Linked DNA regions of Homo sapiens: all the other regions are linked to region 1. The links are contacts of gene promoters, found by promoter capture Hi-C in blood cells and fetal thymus (Javierre and others, 2016). All regions are on one chromosome and are shown on one strand. The core of a region is centred on a gene start or on the middle of the fragment in contact, and the rest is flanking DNA. Distances in the headings are between cores, read along the strand shown.

The links. The method cuts DNA at HindIII sites, captures the fragments that hold promoters and counts their contacts. A CHiCAGO score of 5 or more calls a contact.
Region 2: a fragment that was not itself captured here is called in contact with the fragment with the promoter of RBM18 in region 1 in 1 of 17 cell types (monocytes); the score reaches 5.4 in monocytes.
Region 3: a contact is called between a fragment that was not itself captured here and the fragment with the promoter of RBM18 in region 1, in 6 of 17 cell types (activated CD4 T cells, total CD4 T cells, naive CD8 T cells and 3 more). The highest score is 7.3, in activated CD4 T cells.
Region 4: a fragment that was not itself captured here is called in contact with the fragment with the promoter of RBM18 in region 1 in 8 of 17 cell types (activated CD4 T cells, naive CD4 T cells, M1 macrophages and 5 more); the score reaches 8.8 in activated CD4 T cells.
Region 5: a contact is called between a fragment that was not itself captured here and the fragment with the promoter of RBM18 in region 1, in 13 of 17 cell types (endothelial precursors, naive CD4 T cells, naive CD8 T cells and 10 more). The highest score is 12.3, in endothelial precursors.

What each region holds. Positions count from the first base shown.
Region 1 is chr9:122,263,555-122,266,109 of GRCh38, forward strand. It overlaps RBM18 (RNA binding motif protein 18), which reads right to left and starts at 1,286. Exons shown (of 6, transcript NM_033117.4): 1 at 1,161-1,286. MRRF (mitochondrial ribosome recycling factor) reads left to right here and starts at 1,328. Exons shown (of 7, transcript NM_138777.5): 1 at 1,328-1,384. RefSeq lists enhancers at 468-1,439, 818-2,017, 1,440-2,410, 1,586-1,745. The HindIII fragment of the contact is 1,671 bases long and covers 378-2,048 here.
Region 2 is chr9:122,907,564-122,910,118 of GRCh38, forward strand. ZBTB6 (zinc finger and BTB domain containing 6) reads right to left here. Exons shown (of 2, transcript NM_006626.6): 2 at 493-2,555. Among named protein-coding and RNA genes, the nearest start is that of RC3H2, 3.5 kb to the left of the region's middle. The HindIII fragment of the contact is 5,725 bases long and covers 1-2,555 here.
Region 3 is chr9:122,851,364-122,853,918 of GRCh38, forward strand. It overlaps RC3H2 (ring finger and CCCH-type domains 2), which reads right to left. Exons shown (of 21, transcript NM_001100588.3): 19 at 1-73. Among named protein-coding and RNA genes, the nearest start is that of PDCL, 24 kb to the left of the region's middle. RefSeq lists an enhancer at 1-774. The HindIII fragment of the contact is 6,549 bases long and covers 1-2,555 here.
Region 4 is chr9:122,835,026-122,837,580 of GRCh38, forward strand. It overlaps the pseudogene KRT18P67. Among named protein-coding and RNA genes, the nearest start is that of PDCL, 7.7 kb to the left of the region's middle. The HindIII fragment of the contact is 806 bases long and covers 870-1,675 here.
Region 5 is chr9:122,817,194-122,819,748 of GRCh38, forward strand. It overlaps PDCL (phosducin like), which reads right to left. Exons shown (of 4, transcript NM_005388.5): 4 at 904-2,555. Among named protein-coding and RNA genes, the nearest start is that of PDCL, 10 kb to the right of the region's middle. The HindIII fragment of the contact is 3,417 bases long and covers 1-2,555 here.

The sequences.
Region 1 (2,555 bases), core at 36-2,535:
ATGCTTGTATTTGGAAGGGGAGCAGGACAAAACAAAAGCAAAATAAATAAAGAAGATATAATTAGTGATACATGCCACAAACACAATTAAGCAGGGTGATGTGACAGGGACTCGACGACTATAGATTGAGTGGAGGGAAGGCCTCTCTAAAGGAGATGACATTTGGGACTTGAATGATAGGACATTCTGATTTTCTCATGTCTAAAATCAGGAATAATACCAATAGCTATTAATATTTATTACCACGAAAAGGTACCATGTTTTACTGGTAAGAGTGCAGGCTATGCGGGTCTGGGTTCAAATCCTGACTTTTGCACCTAGTAACTGCACCTTTAGCAAGTCACATGACCTTTCTTTAAGCATCCTCTCGATAGAAAAGCTTTCCTAAACAGAGTTCCTTGTTATTCTATATCATAGCCACTTTTCCATCTTTTTCCTCCTACTAAATGCTAATTCAATGTATTACTTAATGTTTCCTCTTCTATTTCCTTCACTAGAACGTAAGCTCCCACAGCACAGGACCTTGCCAATCTTGATCACGGTTCTATTTCTAGCACTTAAGTACACTGCCTGTCTCACGGTTGGTGCTTAATATTTACTAAATGAAGCAAGCCGCTTCTCCACTCGAAGACTTAGTTTCTTTTTCCTTCCTAGAATGGGTACAATTTGTCGTCTCACGAGGTCGTTGTGAGTCTTAAATAAGACAATTTTGGTGACAGCTCAGAATATGGCTTTTTGAGGAAAGGTAAAGGGTAATAAAAGATCAAGACGGCACGGGACTATCAAAATGCTTTGCGTTTGCAATAGCAACAATCCTTTAGACTACCAGAGTTCACAAAACGCGGTTACATTTGTCTTTCCAGCTGAGCTGCAATAACTCTGGAAGCCAGAAATAGTCATCTGGGGAAAGTGCAATCCAGAGAAGAAGAGACACCTGATCCTAACAGCAAGCGGTGGGGTCATGCCTGGAACCCTGGCTTCCCGATTTCTGGCTGCGAATTCCTACAGGCGAAGGGTCATTACTCGGATTGTTATTTCCGGGCCAGCGACAGGACAATCCGGGGCGGGGCCTGAGATGCAGTCCTGCGAGGGCGGCCTCCTGTAAGACCTCTTAGCGGGCCCATCGCTGAGGTGCAGGGACATGTCGCGGCCGAACTCACCTCGTGGCCTCGGCGTGGTGCTCTCAGCTCATGCCCGGAAACCAGGTCCCGACGCCGCGGTCAGACGGACCTCTAGACGCGTCCGCCTCAATGCCGCCAGCTGCCAGGCCGCCCGTGACGCGTTAAGCCTGCGCCGCCTCCTGGCTTCGTGACGTCACGACGTCCGCGCAGCTGCGGTCGCCGCCGTCGCACGAGTCTTTCCTTAGTAACCTGGGCGATAGCTGGTGAGTGTCCTTGACAGGGCCTCGAGGGGCGCGTGTGGTCTGGGTGCCAGAGACCCTTACTCAGGGACCTCTGGGGGACCTCAGGGGACCAGACTACCGTCCCCGACCCGTTCGAGTCCAGCTTGACCTTTAAGGCTGAGGGCGGGACCTGTGGCATTGGAGCGAGTCTCATGGGGTGGGGGCGGGGCTCCTTTTACCAGCTAGGAATTTAGGGGATGCTGGAGGAACTTACTAAAGAGTAGCCGCACACTTGACGGGAACGTTTGAGTTTCAGAACAATCCCATAGGAGTAGATATTATTATCTCCCATAATGAAGAAACGGAAGCTCACATAGGTAATTTTACCAGGGTCACGCGGTCAGAAAGTGAGGGCGCTTAAATTCAGACCTAGGGCTATCCGACTCCTAAGCCTGGACTTTTAACCACCACTCTGTGCCACCCAGTGGCAAAACAGTTGTCATTTCAGTAGCCCTTCTCCATTTACTTAACCCTGACAAATAGTATTGTCATTTACGTTTTACAGATGAGACGGAAGTCCTGAGAGTTTGACCGATTTAAGGTCACGTGCCTAGGAAGTGCTGGAACCAAGACTCGGAGTTTTCTCTAAGTTTAGTGCCTTTATTTTGTTTTAAACCACACTGTTGCATTTCCCCCCATTTTGGAAAGCTTTATAGTTGGAAAGAATGAAAACCTGATCTGACCCCTTCATTTTATGGTTGAAACAAAATCTACGTAGGAGAAATCACTTGGTACAAGTCACAAGTCAGTGGTAGAGCTGCCGCAAATGCTTTTTGAATACGTGTGATTATGAATCTAAATGGCAGATGGCAGGGAGTGATAAGGTAGGCATACTGGAATCCAGATCTCTTAACTCTTAGGCAAAAGCCCTTTCTCTACCTGTTAAAGTGTCTCATTCCTTCTTTGGCCGTGCCAGGTGCATAATGATTCTGTGTATAGTCAGATACTACAAGTACCTTTCTTTACCTGGTACTGCATTTAGAGAAGAACATCATCTACTATCTCTAAGCAAAAATCTGGCAAACCAGAGACAGTGGAGGCAACGCTGGGAAGCCCAGAACCTACCATAATAGTAAGGGTAGATTCCCATCCGATTCTGGTTTACCCTGGATAAGGAATTTATCTTTCTGGACTTTCACTGATGTATTCATCA
Region 2 (2,555 bases), core at 31-2,530, 640 kb after region 1:
CCTGTCTCAGACTCCCGAGTAGCTGGGATTACAGGCAAGCGCTACCATGCCCGGCTAATTTTTGTATTTTTAGTGAAGGGTTTTCATCAGGTTGGCCAGGCTTGTCTCAAACTCCTGACCTCAAGTGATCTGCCAGCCTCGGCCTCCCTAAGTGTTAGGATTACAGGCCTGAGCCTCGGCGCCCGGCGCTGACCACCATATTTAAAATTGCAATTCCATCCCCCTTCTCTGGTACTCCCTATTCCTGATTTTTCTCCAAATTCCTTCTCAAAATTTGACATACATGGATTTTACTTACTTGTTTACTGTTTGTCTCCCTTCACTAAGATGTTTCACAAGAGCAGGAATTTTTGTCTGTATACCTAACTTATATTTCATTGTAAGGACTCAGGAAGTATTTGCTAGATGAATGATTAATGTATAGTCAGGAGAAATTGTATCCTTTAAATTGTATCCTTTAAAATTCAAAGATGAAGACAAAACACATTGTTCTCCATTCCCACCTCCAGTTTATTATTTCTTATGTAAACATGTAAGATAGTTACATCCCAGGAAAAAGGGCAAGTGTTTTTCTCTGACAACGAAGTAACAACTACCTTTTCAAGATCTTTTATATGTAAATGGAGTAAATGAAGAGGCTGAACTCAAACACTTTTCATTTTTCTGTCATATCAGAAACATAAACTAAATGTGAATATGTTAAATGAATAAATTCTATACTTTGTCATACCTGAACTTTAAAAAAAGATTCCATTTTCCTGAAAATTTTTAGACATATCATGCAAACAGACACTCTCCTAGGAATGTTTGGAGATCATTCCGTGCTACTGAACAGGAATAAATAATATAAATAATAACCATCACTTTCACAAAACACCCCTCCCCCAGCAAAAATCTCAAAGTGCTCACAAAAAATTTTACAACAATCTTACAAGGCACACATAAAACTTAAACATAGTTTCAACCAATTTTTTTTCAAATATCCAAGATAGTAGATACTAATTCTTAAAAAATCAGAGTACTATTCTTTTACCCTCTCCTCCCATCTCCATCCTTCCCCCTTCCCCCCACGCCATTTTATAATAGGAAGCAAAAATAAGAAAAGTACTTCAATCACTAGTAAACTATTTCTGAAAAGAAAATATTTTCACACCAACAAATGGCCAATCTTAGGTCAAATGGAAGCAATGAACTATGAATGAAAAATTAGCAATGAGCTATCACACTTTCCAGTGGAAAAAGATCCACTAATTAGAAAAATTATGTCTCCAATGGAGTACTTAAGTAACAAAGTTCATAAAGACACAAAACCGTCCTCTCTTGCTTTCCCCTCTTCTGTTCTCAGGAAGAATTAAATACAAAATCATGGAATTTTAGACCTGGAAATGATCTTTCAAATGACCAAGATCAAAGTTATTTTACATATAAAGTTAAAAAGTTCAAGGAGAAATTCAGCACAATGTCGCTAACTAGTAACATTGGGTTATGAAGTCGGTTTTTTCATCAAACGAGACCTGCATTCTTGAAAGTCTCAAGGAAAGTTAAAATTCAGTGGAGAATGTCTTTCCCACAAAATTGTCAAAAAAAGGTTAACACTTATAACAACGAACATGTGATTCATTCATCACACAATTTTTATAAATGGTACAAAGTATATTACATTTTAAAATACAGAAGGGCTTCAATAGAAATTAAATACAGTAGAAATTCTACATAAAGCTAAGTTAACTAGAGGAGGACTAGAACAGCTTCAAAGAAAGATGCATCTAGTCAGTCTTCTTTACGAAAAGCAGTTCCTGTGTTTTAGAGAATATTATTTGCCCTGCAGTATATTTTAATCTTTGTTAAAATAATTTATAAAAGTTTTGTGTTATATGTAGACGGAGATGTTAGAGAACTATGGCTCAGAACACCATCTCAAATATGACTCTCGCTAAAATAATCATACAGTCATAGTTTTCCTTTTGGCATATTTTTGGAAATATAAAACTCTAGGGATGGTTAAGATTTTTATCAACACATAGTGAATGGAAATTACATTAATGTAAATGAAAAAATACAACACTAATAGCTACACCTTTTTAAATTGCTCATCTAGTAACAGCTAGAATATATATTGCCAATTCAAAATTTAAAATGACATGGATGAACCTCAAAGTCATTATGCTGGGTGAAAAAGCATTTCAAGAGGGAACGTACTATAAGATTCTGTTTATATGACAGTCCAGAAAAGGCAAAATAATAGTGACGGAGAACTGTTGCCAGGATTAGAGCTAGAAGGAGCTGACTACAAAGGGACAGCATAAGAGAGCTATTGGGAGTGAAGGAACTGTTCTGTACCGACTGCAGTAGTGGTGCACAAATCTTTCTGTTAAAATTCACAGAACTATACACCAAGAAGAAATTTCAATTTTACTTCATGTTAAATAAAAAATAAAATAGAGAGGAACTTTTAAAACAGTAGAACAGATATCCCTGGTAAAGGTAGAATTTCTCATTTTTCACAGCTTCATGCCAATGGTATAATTTTACTGGCCACAAAATTATTAAATCCG
Region 3 (2,555 bases), core at 28-2,527, 590 kb after region 1:
GTGCTGAAAGCTCTAACTCGATATCCCTATCAGGTTTAGTATCTGTTGCATCTTCTGTATAATCACTCTGTAACTAAGAAAAATACTGATTTTGCTCTCCCTCTCCCTCTCCCTCTCCCCATGGTCTCCCTCTCCCCATGGTCTCCCTCTCCCTCTCTTTCCATGGTCTCCCTCTCATGCCGAGCCGAAGCTGGACTATACTGCTGCCATCTCGGCTCACTGCAACCTCCCTGCCTGATTCTCCTGCCTCAGCCTGCAGAGTGCCTGCAATTGCAGGCGCGCGCCGCCACGCCTGACTGGTTTTCGTATTTTTTTGGTGGAGACGGGGTTTCGCTGTGATGGCCGGGCTGGTCTCCAGCTCCTAACCACGAGTGATCTGCCAGCCTCGGCCTCCCGAGGTGCCGGGATTGCAGACGGAGTCTGGTTCACTCAGTGCTCAATGGCGCCCAGGCTGGAGTGCAGTGGCGTGATCTCGGCTCGCTACAACCTCCACCTCCCAGCCGCCTGCCTTGGCCTCCCAAAAAGCCGAGATTGCAGCCTCTGCCCGGCCGCCACCCCGTCTGGGAAGTGAGGAGCGTCTCTGCCTGGCCGCCCATCGTCTGGGATGTGAGGAGCCCCTCTGCCTGGCTGCCCAGTCTGGAAAGTGAGGACCGTCTCTGCCCGGCCGCCATCCCATCTGGGAAGTGAGGAGCGCCTCTTCCCGGCCGCCATCACATCTAGGAAGTGAGGAGCGTCTCTGCCCGGCCGCCCGTCGTCTGGGATGTGGGGAGCGCCTCTGCCCCGCCGCCCTGTCTGGGATGTGAGGAATGCCTCTGCCCGGCCGCCACCCCGTCTGGGAGGTGAGGAGCGTCTCTGCCCGGCCGCCCCGTCTGAGAAGTGAGGAGACCCTCCGCCCGGCAGCCGCCCCGTATGAGAAGTGAGGAGCCTCTCCGCCCGGCAGCCGCCCCGTCTGAGAAGTGAGGAGCCTCTCTGCCTGGCAGCCACCCCGTCTGGGAAGTGAGGAGCGTCTCCGCCCGGCAGCCGCCCCGTCCGGGAGGGAGGTGGGGGGGTCAGCCCCCCGCCTGGCCAGCCGCCCCGTCCGGGAGGTGAGGGGCGCCTCTGCCCGGCCGCCCCTACTGGGAAGTGAGGAGCCCCTCTGCCTAGCCAGCCGCCCCGTCCGGGAGGGAGGTGGGGGGGTCAGCCCCCCGCCCGGCCAGCCGCCCCGTCCGGGAGGGAGGTGTGGGGGTCAGCCCCCGGCCCGGCCAGCCGCCCTGACCGGGAGGGAGGTGGAGGGGTCAGCTCCCAACCCGGCCAGCCGCCCTGTCCGGGAGGTGAGGGGCGCCTCTGCCCTGCCGCCCCTACTGGGAAGTGAGGAGCCCCTCTGCCCGGCCAGCCGCCCCGTCCGGGAGGGAGGTGGGGGGGTCAGCCCCCCGCCTGGCCAGCCGCCCCATCCGGGAGGTGAGGGGCGCCTCTGCCCGGCCGCCCCTACTGGGAAGTGAGGAGCCCCTCTGCCCAGCCACCACCCCGTCTGGGAGGTGTGCCCAACAGCTCATTGAGAACGGGCCATGATGACAATGGCGGTTTTGTGGAATAGAAAGGGGGGAAAGGTGGGGAAAAGATTGAGAAATCGGATGGTAGCCGTGTCTGTGTAGAAAGAAGTAGACATGGGAGACTTTTCATTTTGTTCTGTACTAAGAAAAATTCTTCTGCCTTGGGATCCTGTTGATCTGTGACCTTACCTCCAACCCTGTGCTCTCTGAAACATGTGCTGTGTCCACTCAGAGTTAAATGGCTTAAGGGCGGTGCAAGATGTGCTTTGTTAAACAGATGCTTGAAGGCAGCATGCTCATTAAGAGTCATCACCACTCCCTAATCTCAAGTACCCAGGGACACAAACGCTGCGGAAGGCCGCAGGGTCCTCTGCCTAGGAAAACCAGAGACCTTTGTTCACTTGTTTATCTGCTGACCTTCCCTCCACTATTGTCCTATGACCCTGCCAAATCCCCCTCTGTGAGAAACACCCAAGAATGATCAATAAAAAAAAAAAAAAAAAAAGAAAAATACTGATTTTATACCTGTGGAACCTGGGGTTTCCCTTTTAAATTAAAGTAAAAAATCCCAATGATCAGCCAGGCACGGGGGCTCACACCTGTAATCCTAGCACTTTGGGAAGGTGAGGCGAGCAGATCACTTGAGGTCAGGAGTTCAAGACCAGCTTAGCCAACATGGTGAAACCCTGTCTCTACTAAAAACACAAAAATTAGCTGGGCATGGTGGTGGGTGCCTGTAATCCCAGCTACTCGGGAAGCTGAGGCAGGAGAATCGCTTGAACCTGAGAGCCAGAGGCTGCAGTGAGCCAAGATCGTGCCATTGCACTCCAGGCGATAGAGCAAGATTCCATCTCAAAAAAACAAAAATCCCGATGATCTAGTTAAAGAATTATTTAAGAAATCTGGGATTACAATTTTATTTCTGTTATAAGTTTTAAAAGCAATCAATCATCCATCAGAGATAGGCACACCAAAATGCACTCAGTAATGGTATAACCAAGATGCAGCAGCAGAAAACAAATACAT
Region 4 (2,555 bases), core at 23-2,522, 570 kb after region 1:
GGTTATGTTTATCTAATAAAACTAGTTGTAAGTTCCCTCTTCCACTTTCTGAAGTAGCTTCTGTAAAATTGGCATTATTTCTCCTTAAATATTTATTAATAATAGAATAAACCTGTGAAGCGATCTGGGCCTGGAGTTTTCTTTGTGGGAAGGTTTTTCATAATTAATTCAATTTCTTTGGTAGTTATAGGGCTATGGCAGGCAGCTTCTAAAATCGCTCCTAGGCTAATGATCAATTTATTGCCCCTCTGCTCCCAATTCGCCCTTGAATATATGCTCTTCAATAATGGATAGAATTCAGTGAAGCATTTCTCCTTTGCAGTGAGCACAGTGATGAGCTTTCTCAGTAGAGGGCACTGGAGGGGCATTGCAGGAGGAGGGGCTCTCCTACTGTTTCCCACAGTTTCGTGGTAGGTCAGTGATGTGGATGTAATGACATCCAGGGGAGCTCTTTCCCAGCCATGTGTCCAGCACATATGGTCCCTTGGTGACATTGCAACCTCAGTCTAGACCAGCAACAATTTTCCTGTGGCCCTCTCAATGCGAAAATTAGCTTTCTGAAGGCTTCCTTCCTGTCGCCTACCAGTTTCCTGTCCCCCACCAGCCAACTCTCTCTGCAGGCTCCTGTGTACCTCTCCTGCTGCCTGGAGAGTAGCTTTCTGTCTGCCAGTGACTAGTTCCAGCCTGGGCCAACTAGCGGACCTCTGGGCTGAACTATACCTTCTCCGAGGTGTGACCCTCAGCCTTGAGAAGTGGACCCCTTTCCAAGTTTGTGTTTCCTTAGGTACTCTCCCTAACCTATAGAGTACTATGTGGAATTTACTTTTAGCTGGTAGTCATTTATTAGCATTTAATGATTCTTTATATTAAGCTTTACCCCATATAACGTACTGTGTAGTTTCTACCTCCTGATTGGACACAGACTGATACTACTCCCAAAGTTCCCCGCCTCTTGGTATTCATGCCCTGTGTAATCCCTTTCCCTTGCTTCTAAGGATTAGAATACCACAAAAGTAATGGGATGTTGCTTCCAAAATTTGGTTATAAAAGACTGTGACGTCTTTTTAGCACACACTCTCTCTCTCTCACTCTCTGTTGCCTGTATTGCTTGCTGCTTGGATGAGCCACTCTACCATATTGTGAGCTGCACTACAGAGAAGCTCATGTGGCCAGAAACTAACAGTAGCTGTATTAGTCCTTTCTTGTGATGCTATAAAGAAATAACTGAGATGGCCGGGCGCGGTGGCTCACGCCTGTAATCCCAGCACTTTGGGAGGCCGAGGGGGGTGGATCACGAGGTCAGGAGATTGAGGCCATCCTGGCCAACATGGTGAAACCCCGTCTCTACTAAAAATACAAAAATTAGCTGGGCATGGTGGTGGGCGCCTATAGTCCCAGCTACTCAGGAGGCTAACGCGTAAGAATCGCTTGAACCCGGGAGGCGGAGGTTGCAGTGAGCCAAGATAACGCCACTGTACTCCAGCCTGGCAACAGAGCAAGACTGTCTCAAAAAAAAGAAAAACAAAAAACAAAAAAAAAAAAACCTGAGACTGGTATTTCTACATAAAGAAATACCGATACTGATAAAGAAAAGAGGTTTAATTTGGCTCACAGTTCCGCAGGTTGTACAGGCATGGCACCAATAGCTGCTTAGCTCCTGGTGAGGGCCTGAGGAAGCTTACAATCATGACAGAAAGCAAAGAGGCGCCAGCATATCACGTGGTGAGAGCAGAAGCAAGGTGGGGGTAGGGGAGGTGTCACCCTCTTTTAAACAACCAGATCTAGCATGAACTGAGCAAGAACTCATCACCAAGGGGATGGCACTAAGCCATTTATGAGGGATCCATCCCCATGATCCAATACGTCCCACTAGGCCCCACGTCCAACACGAGGTCACATTTCAACATGAGATTTGGAGGGGACAAATATCCAAATCATATCATTCCTCCCCTGGCACCCATCCCCCACATCTCATGTCCTCCTCACGTTGCAAAATACAATAATCCCTTCTCGTTAATCCCCCAAAGTCTTAACTCATTCCAACATCAAATCAAAAGTCCTAAGTCTTCTCTGAGACTCACTTTCTTTCACCTATGAACCTGTAAAATCAAAACCAGTTATTTACTTCCAATAAACAACGGTAGTACAGGCATTGGGTAAACATTCCCATTCCAAAAGGGAGAAACTGACCGAAATAAAGGGGCTACAGGCCCTATGCAAGTCTGAAACTCAGCAGGGCAGATATTAAATCTTACAATTCCAAAATAATCCTTGAGACTGGGCAACATCGTGAAACCTGTCTCTACAGAAAATTAAAAAAACAAAATTAGCCAGGCATGGTGGTGTGCACCTGTAGTCCCAGCTACTCAGGAGGCTGAGGTGGGAGAATCACTTTAGCCCCAGAGGTCAAGGCTGCAGTGAGCCATGATTGCGCCACTGCTCTGGGCAACAGAGTGAGACCCTGTCTAAAACACACATACGGTCAGCAAAGCCTGACTCCTGTCCTCTCTCTCTCCTCTCCAGACAGCATGAGCTTCACCACTCGCTCCACCTTC
Region 5 (2,555 bases), core at 41-2,540, 550 kb after region 1:
GGCCGAGGCAGGTGATCACCTGAGGTCAGGAGTTCGAGACCAGCCTGGCTAACATGGTGAAACCCCATCTCTACTAAAAATACAAAAATTAGCCAGGCATGGTGGCAGGCACCTGTAATCCCAGCTACTCAGGAGGCTGAGGCAGGAGAATCGTTTGAATCCAGGAGGCGGAGGTTGCAGTAACCTGAGATTGTGCCACTGTACTCCAGCCTGGGCAACAGAGTGAGACACCATCTCCAAAAAAAAAAGTCTAGGATTTCTCCATTACCATTACATGTCTACTCTTTTTTTTAATTTTTTTTTTTTTTTTTTTTTTTGAGACAGGGTCTCTGTCGCCCAGGTTGGAGTGCAATCATGGTTCACTGCAGCCTTGACCTCCCAGGCTCAAGAGATCCTCCTGACTAAGCCTCCCAAGTAGCTGGGACTAGAGGTACAACACCGTGCCCAGCTAATTTTTTCTATTTTTTGTAGAGATGAGGCCTCACTATGTCTGCCTCAGCCTCCCAAAGTGCTGGAATTACAGGCATGAACCACCACACCCAGCCCTACTGTATTTTAGAACTTCTGTTCTTGAAAAGCAAAGTCAAGTTCCCTGTAAGTGCATAATATATTCTCATTTTCAATGAGAACAGAAGATGGTTTGTAAAAGCTATTTTTAAGTGTCCCTATTTGCCCAGTAATTCCTCTTCTAGAAATCTATGAGAATAATTCAAAATATAGCCCAAAACACAAAGGCATTAAGTGTTCAGCAAAACACTGAGAATCTAAATAACCAATATAAAGAGATTGGTTAGGCCGTGCAGCGTGCTCACGCCTGTAATCCCGGCACTTTAGGAGGCCGAGGCGGGCAGATTACCTGAGGTCAGGAGCTTGAGACCAGTCTGGCCAACATGGTGAAACCCCGTCTCTAGTAAAAATACAAAAATTAGCCAGGCGTGATGGCATGTGCCTGTAGTCCCAGCTACTCAGGAGGCTGAGGCAGGAGAACTGCTTGAACCCAGGAGGTGGAGGTTGCAGTGAGCCGAGATCACGCTATTGTACTCCAGCCTGGGTGACAGAGCGAGACTCCATCTCAAAGAAAACAAACAAAATAAATAAATAAAAATAAAGAGACTGGTTAAATAAATTATTATATATCCAAATGATGAAATATTATGAAGCCACTGAAAATTATTTATTTAGAATGTTTGAAACATCAAAGTATTTATGATACAACACTAAATAAGGAAGAGCACAGAACTAAATTCAGTAAGTACTCAATGTTTATAAAAATATTGAAAAAAGACTGAAAGGAAATAAGCTAGACTAACAATACTTCCCTGCTTCTAATAATTTTCAATACATTCCACCCTTTCTACTACAACGAGCTTTCTTAGTCAAAAAAAAAAAAAATGCACTCTGTTTGTTGACTAAATACTTTCAAGACTCTTTTACAGTTAGTCAATTCCTGAAAAGCCAGGAAAATCAAAATTGTGAATTTTAAGGCTAATATTTAATTCCAGATTACATTTCCCCTGACCCTAGAATATACATTTTTAAAGTTAAAAAAAGGAAAAAAACGCAAATGATAATTATTATAAATACATAGAAAAAAAGGCTATAAAAATGACTAGAAATATGACAAAAGGGATTAATTTTGGTTGGTGGAATTATATGGCTTTTAAGTCTTAACAGTGTTTATTACATTTTCTACAATGAACATCTATCACTTTTGTAATTTAAAAAAAGTATTTGCTATCTTTCTTTTTAAGAGACAACCATCAAGCAAATTATATCACATCTATACGATGGAATATTAATAGACATTTTTAAAAAGTTGTAGAATATTTAATAATATAAAAAAAGGTCTGATATATTATTAGCTGACCATACTATAGAACAGTATGTTCAGAATGATCCCATCGTTTTGTTTAAAAACAAACAAAATATCCATGTATACACAGAAAACACCTTGGCAGGAAACAGACCAAAATATTAATAGTGTTTTATTCTAGGTAGTAGGATTAGAGATTATTTTAATTTTCTTATTTTTGCTTCTGTTTTGGTCAGTTTTCCTCTACTGAATATGAATTACTTTTCCAATATGAAAAAAAAAAAAAGTTTTAAAAAAAATCTAGGTTAAACAAAAAGTTACCTTGTTAAACAAAAAGTTACCTTGTTAAACAAAAAAGAGACAAAGACAAGCAGGGGCATCTTACTGAAAGAACTTCCTTTACAAAGATTTCCAGCCCCACTCCAGCTCTAATGTTTAAATCCATAAACTACTTGTCTTCTAACATCACCAGGTCAGTAAGCATCAACCCTTCCTGCTGTTCCAGACTTAGTCATGCTGGAGGAAGACATGAAATCCAGCAGCAGAGGCCACCCCTCAGGACTGGGTGCGGTGGCTCACCCCTTTAAACAAGACCCTGGTGGGGAAAAAAAAAATCTAACCACCGTCTAAAGCTATGGAACTGATTACAAGTAAATATAATTTACAATCATTTGATTAAGAAAATGCACTATTTACGTTGCAAATAACACAATACCTACAGAATTATACTCTCAGACTTGGC